2 separate regions of the Homo sapiens genome follow, and region 1 is linked to region 2. Evidence: promoter capture Hi-C in human tissues and cell types (Jung and others, 2019). All regions are on one chromosome and are shown on one strand. Each heading gives the region's core, a stretch centred on a gene start or on the middle of the fragment in contact. The rest is flanking DNA. Distances are from core to core; before and after follow the strand shown. Region 1 overlaps LOC107986011 (a long non-coding RNA gene). Region 2 holds the start of UBE2E2 (ubiquitin conjugating enzyme E2 E2).

Region 1 (3,072 bases), core at 125-2,624, 1.3 Mb after region 2:
TCTCTAGACCTTGTGTTGCCTAGGCTACTCAAAAGCCTTCTAAATGGTCTCATCACATCACATCCTTTTCCACTAAAAACTTGATTTTTGTTTTTTTTAGGAGCCAAATCCTTGACATAGGCTATGGGTCTTATTTCTCATCATTTTTAGTCTTACCATATGAGCTCCCCATTTCCTTCCCACCTCTTCTGAATTCACTTCTAGGAATCCTCAGGCCTCCCCTTAGCACTTCCTCAGGAAAGACTTCCTCCTGCAGAAAATCTCTCACTATCTTCTTATAGCACTGCACATTTCTGTATGTGTCATAGCCTGTCTCTCCCAGTAAACTGTAAGCCCCAAAGAGGCAGTCATTATGGATGTTTTACATACTTTTATATCCTTAGTGTCTAGTATGGTGTCTGATACATATTAGATGCTTAATAAACATTTGCTGAATGAATAAATGGTATTGCAAATGCCATTGTTGGGATTTGGAAAATCGGTGGGCAGTGACTGGGTTTTAAAAGACAGAAAGAGAGGAGGAAAGAGAGAAAGGGAGGAGAGAGAGAGAGAGTGAGAACTCTTATGTTTACCTTATAAAATAGCCATTTAGCTCATTAGCTTAGTCAAATTCTAAATAATCTTAACTCCTAAGATTGGATGGACTAAAGTTTGAAGCCTACTGTCTTCCCATCACTGTCCTGAGCCTGACATCTAATAATTAGATCAGCAGTCATCAAAGTGATTACAAGACCATTTCTGGGGGTCCATGAGATCCTGCCTTTCCAAGCTGGATATGGTCATATTTTCTTCACATACTTCAACTCAAACAACATACTACAGCAGATTGAATGCAGAAGCAGTTACGGGACTCCAGCTGTACTATTAAACTAAACGCTATGGTTTGAATGCTCACTCCAAAAATCATGTTGAAATTTAATTGGATAAATTAATTGGGACATGGGGCCTTTAAGTAGTAGATTAATACCCTTATTGCAGGAGTTGGATATTTATCTCAGGAGTGGGCTCCTGGTAAAAGGATGAAGTTTGGTTTCCATTTTTCTCTCTGCCTCACGTGCTTCCTTGTCCTTCGGTCATGTTACGATGTAGCAAGAAGGCCCTACAGATACAGCCCCTTGATCCTGGACTTCCCAGCCTCTAGAACTATGAGCGAAATAAATTTATTTTCTTTTAAAGTTACCCAGTCTGTGATGTTCTATTAGCAAGAAATGACATTTAAACCTTTTGCAAAAATGTAAAATAATGCCTTTTGTTCACTAAATAGTTTCTTATTTTGGAAAATATAGTTGTTTTTTAAAAAACATGTTCTTTACATTAACACATAAGGATTTATCATTGCTACTTTTAAATGATTAGTAAAAATATTTTAAACATTACTCATTTTCCATTCTAATACTATTGCTGCTATTTATAATATCCTATTTATTGATGCTATTTATATATCCTATTTATAATCCTCAGAATCAAAGCTCTTTGGGGTCTTCAATACTTTTTGAGAGTATGAAAGGGTCTTGAGACCGAAGCATTTGTGAACTGCTGCATTAAAAAAAATCATTTCTTTGGTTTAAGACTTAGTCTCCTTAGTCTCTCAAACTACAAGTAAGTAGGAATGCAGCAGTAGAAAGAACCTAGATTTTTGGCATTAGTCAATGTGGCTTGGAAAGCTGGTGTAGCCTCAATAACTGGTTGTGTGAACTTGGGAAAGTCAGGTAACTTCTGAGAGTCTCATTTTTCTCTTAGGATAAAAACACCTCAGTAGGTTATTGTGAAAATAAAAGAAAAACATGAGAAAGCACTCAGCATAGTGCTGGCACATAATAGGTATGTGCTTGGCACACAGAAGTATTAAATTTTATTGTCAACTATACATTGGTGTGAGTTTGTTAATCTTTTTTCAAACGGCTTTTAAGGATCTGGTGATGCAGTGGTACGTGGTAAAAGTTTAGTAACTAGCTCTCTGGAAATAAAGATTCCTGTTTTTTAGAATTTGCTGATTCTCATGCTGTAAATATTTGCACCTTGGCTGATTTTAATGTCCATTTGGAGGAGATGGGCTCAAATCACTTGTGAACAGGTATGAGACAGTTTCAGCATAAAATGTTCTGGGCCCAAGAGTGGAATCTAGAAAAAGGAGACACATAAGGTAGAATAAGAGTCTCAGGACGTGATGGTGAAATTTCGGCTAATTCAGTATTTTGCCTCAAGCCTTTCCTTTAACGCTTAGAGTTCCCAGTTTTCTTTTTGGTTGGATTGAATCACTGGCATCACCAAGAGGGTGCCATGAAGACTTTCGTATCCAAGTTATCTGCCACCGAGTCTCATATTACCACCAGAAGAGTAACTATTTGGGGAAGCATATTGTCCAGATAACCTAGTTAAAATAAGGGATCATTGACAGATTAGTCTGGCTTAGATGTCAGAGGTGTAATGCCCTAAAATGATGCTGCAGAACAGTGGATCTCAAAGAGTGCACCCCAGACAAGCAGCAAGGTATCACCTGGTTGTTGGAAATGAAAATCATCAGATCCCACTCAGCCCTATTAAATTGTAAATTCCGGGGGTGGGGCCCAGCAATCTGAGTTTTAACAAACCCTTCCTACAGAACCCCTGGTGTAGGAGAAGTTCACGAACCCAGATAGGTGGGAAGACTGCAGTGATTGGAGCAGGGAGTGATCTGGGCATCCTGGGTATCCCAAGGGAACCTGGGGCAAAGACAAGCTGAGACTGGGCACAGCGGGTGCTGTTGGTTCCCGCTGGAGCCCCTTCACTGATCTGGTACTTCCCTCGCCTTCTGTGGTGTGTTGGTTGCTAAGGACTCGAAGATGTTCCCTTCTCTGGAGAACTGCCAGGGCTGCATGACAATAGCTACAAAAGCCTCCCCCTTTGCTTCAAAGTGAAACTAACTCTGTGATGTAGTTCATGTTCCTAGTGGGACAGACTAAAGCCAGTCTCCAGTAGGGATGACAGTCTTGCTCACCTTCTCGCCTGCCCAATTCTGCTCCCCTTACTCTTCTCCTAAAAGCACTCCTGACGAAAATCGCCTCAGCATGAATCTTGGTCACAGGTTCTGCT
Region 2 (3,165 bases), core at 197-2,696:
TTTATTCAATGTCATATATCTACCACCTAGACAGTGCCTGGTATCAATAAATATTCCTTGAATAAATGAAAAGGGTAACTGATTTGTATTAAACCCATTTTGAACTTAGTAAATAGCAGTTAAAACATCTACAGTCAAATGAAGTACTGTAGCAACCATAATTTCAGCAATTAAGCAGTGAAAGATCTTCCAATCCTTTCCTCCACAAAGATAGAAGTTAATTTTGCTGCATCCCTGGACACCCCGTTGCCAACGACCCAGCATTCCGTTGGTAAGTGAGGCTGGAGGTTGGAGTGGGAGAAATTTCGTGGAAGCTAAGTTCGCAAAGCAGGTACGTTTTTTTTTTTTTTTTAAACGGTTATTTGGGATGAGGAGTACAACGGAACCTAATGTTCCCTCATGCCACCTACAGCACTGCTACTGTTCCCATATCCTTCAACTGGGCATGAAGGCAGCTTCCCACTCACTCTGACAGTGGTGCACCCTGTACCCCCACCCCTCTCTTCAATACCCCAGGGCTAAACGGCCCGAAGCTCCTCTCTACCGGCTGGTGCGCATTCTGGGCCAGGGCGAGCCAAAAGGCAGAAGGGCCTTCGTGCTGCAGTGTCTGGTGAAGACTCAGGCTTAGCCTGGAAGAAGTTTCCAGGCCAACGTGAAGTTTTCCTGTCTTGGGTACATGCGAGCCCCACGCGTCTGCGAGTTTGGGTTAGTGTGTCAACAGGGTCAGTCCCCGTATCTACTTTGCGAAAGCTTCGAGGCGAGCGTGAAGTCAAGGGCTGCGGTGGATGGGGGTAAAAGGCCTCCTCGTCCCACTGCCTGCACCGTCTTGGGGTAACCCCTAACCCCCAGCCGGCGTTTCCCTTTAATGCGCGTGCCCGGCAAGGTCCTCGCGTCCCCTCCCCTCAAGCCACCCCGTCAGCCTCGGTTTCCCCCACTTCTCCCCGTCCTTGTCGTTCCTTCCCCGTGGGACGCCCCTCGCTCACCCCCGTCAGAGCCCAGTCTGCGCGCGGGACCCAGCTGTCACTTTACTTTTCCTCGCCGCCTCCCCACCCCCTCTCCCGACCGGCGGGGCAGCCCGCCCGGGCGCGCTCCCGCCCCCGCCCCCTCGCGGCCGCGCGCCGGAGGAGGAGGGGCGGGGGGAGGAGGGAGGCGCGCGGCGCCGCATGGCCGACGTGGGGCTCGCGCTCTCGCGGTCTCTCCCGGGCGGGCGCGCAGGCACGCGCACTCGCGGGTGCGCGCGCGGACGGCCGGGCGGCGGCGGCTCCCGGAGGTGGTGGCTTCACTTTCCAGGACTCAGGGGCAGCCACAGCGACAGCCGCGGGCAGCAGCCTCAGGAGCCGGAGCTGGAACGGCCGGGGGCGGCGGCAGCGGCGGCGCTGAGGGTGAGTCCGGGCGGGCGCGAGCGCGGCGGGGACAGGCGTGGTCGGGTGCGTGGTGCGTGGGTCCGGCTTTCGGTGACTAGACGGTCCGCAGGGGACATCCCGTCCCTGGGGCCTCCCCAGTCTCCCTCCCCCTCGCGCCTGGGCAGCTCTCTCCCAGGGCTTCGGCTCGAGCCTGCGACCTGCACGGACACCCCCCCCTCAGGTATTCGCTCGGGCCGCGCCGGTGCCTCCCCTCCTCGGGCGTCCTCCCTCTCGCTGACGTCCTCCTCACTCCCCCGACCTCCCCTCCGCGTCGCAGGTCTCTGCTTACACCGCTCGTGCCCTAGTTCCCTCCTTCCTCGCTCCCCGTGCCCGGTTCCCTACGCCCCCTCCCGCGAGCCTCCTGCCCCCGTTTCTCGCCCTTTCTACCCCTCCCCCTTCTTCCCATCCCCCCCTTCTGCCTCTTCTCTCCCTGTCCTCCTTCTACCCCCTTCCGTTCTCAGTTCCCCATCCTTCTCAACCCTCCCAGCGCTTTCCTTCTCCTAGCCGCATCCTGGAACTAAGTCTTTTCAAAAGTACAGGATAAATGTCACGGTGGAAAGTGCCCGGCTTGATCTTTTGCTATTTTCCCTAATTGCATAATTGCTGCACATGGTGTGTCTCCTGGCGAGTGCCGGGTTTGGCTCCTTCGCCGCCGCACCCCGGTGGCCCGCCCGGAGAAGACCTTGTGGGGTATATTTGTGTGTGTCCTGGTGAGGGGTGTGTGTTGTATTGGTCTTTTGTGATGCCTGGCGCTTGTCACAGTTTGGAACCGAAGCCCATTTTTCTCTGGTCTCTTCTCTGCAGCCCCCACTGGCCTGGTTTGAAACTGGATTCCCTCTGTCCTCTCCCCCTTCCCGCCCACCCCACTTCTCCCCCTCTTTTCTCCGATCTCTCTCATAATGTTTTGATCTTTTTGCCCTTTACCATTTCTAATGAAGATAAAGCGTGGCTTCTTGTGGCTTTTTTCCCCCACGACCAACCAGAAATGTCCAATCCATCTTCCCTTAAGGAAATTAAGGCTGCTTTAGAAAGACATCATCCTGTGCTCGGTGGCTGTTAGACCCATTTGCATGTTTTCAAGATTCATCGTTTTGTATTGTGTATTCTTGAGAGTCTACTAAAATATTTTTATTTAAAAGTACGAAAGGAAGTGCTAGGGTTTACCCTCAAAGTATCTCGCGGTTCTAAAGGATTTTACGCTCTTCTTAGTTTTTAATCCCTGATTTCTTTAAAAAGTATGTTTCTAGATATGTGATAATTCAGTCTGGACTTTGTGAATCTAAATATTTGCCTTTACTACGGCAATTTGGATGCTCCTTGGCTCTTTGGAATTCTGTATGTGGGCTGACGCTGAAATAGAGTGTTTTCATATAATGCCATACCCCATTCTCTTTCCCCTGCAGCACCTTTTACCCCCAAATCAGGTGTTCCACTGTTATTTTCTGCATAAATGTCTTTGCAGTTAAATTTAAAGCTGGATATTGCTGTGTGCATATACTATATATTTATTTTACATTTTAGAAAAGTTTAGAAACATGAGTAGGAAGACAGCAAGACATATATGACAGAATTAAACGCTTTCCTGTTATAAAAGCTTAAATGAACACTTGGTTTTGCAGTTTTATACTAGTAGATACTGTTATAAGGCTTACCTGGGTAGTAGGCTGGATTTATGGAATGACTATAGTTGCCTTTATGTAGTCAGTAATATTTCAAGCCAAATCATTTCATTTTTATGGAACATGTGAGTTTCATTCACTGT

What was found. The method cuts DNA at HindIII sites, captures the fragments that hold promoters and counts their contacts. A contact is called where the count stands out against the background at its distance.
Region 1: a contact is called between a fragment that was not itself captured here and the fragment with the promoter of UBE2E2 in region 2, in 1 of the 25 tissues and cell types used here (dorsolateral prefrontal cortex).

Annotation. Positions count from the first base shown.
Region 1 is chr3:24,516,597-24,519,668 of GRCh38, forward strand. All of the region lies in intron 1 of LOC107986011 (a long non-coding RNA gene), which reads right to left. Among named protein-coding and RNA genes, the nearest start is that of THRB, 23 kb to the left of the region's middle. RefSeq lists an enhancer at 2,579-3,072. The HindIII fragment of the contact is 4,974 bases long and covers 1-3,072 here.
Region 2 is chr3:23,201,881-23,205,045 of GRCh38, forward strand. UBE2E2 (ubiquitin conjugating enzyme E2 E2) reads left to right here and starts at 1,447. Exons shown (of 6, transcript NM_152653.4): 1 at 1,447-1,584. UBE2E2-DT (UBE2E2 divergent transcript) reads right to left here and starts at 1,113. Exons shown (of 2, transcript NR_136176.1): 1 at 984-1,113. RefSeq lists enhancers at 120-1,095, 508-567 and a silencer at 918-1,607. The HindIII fragment of the contact is 11,420 bases long and covers 1-3,165 here.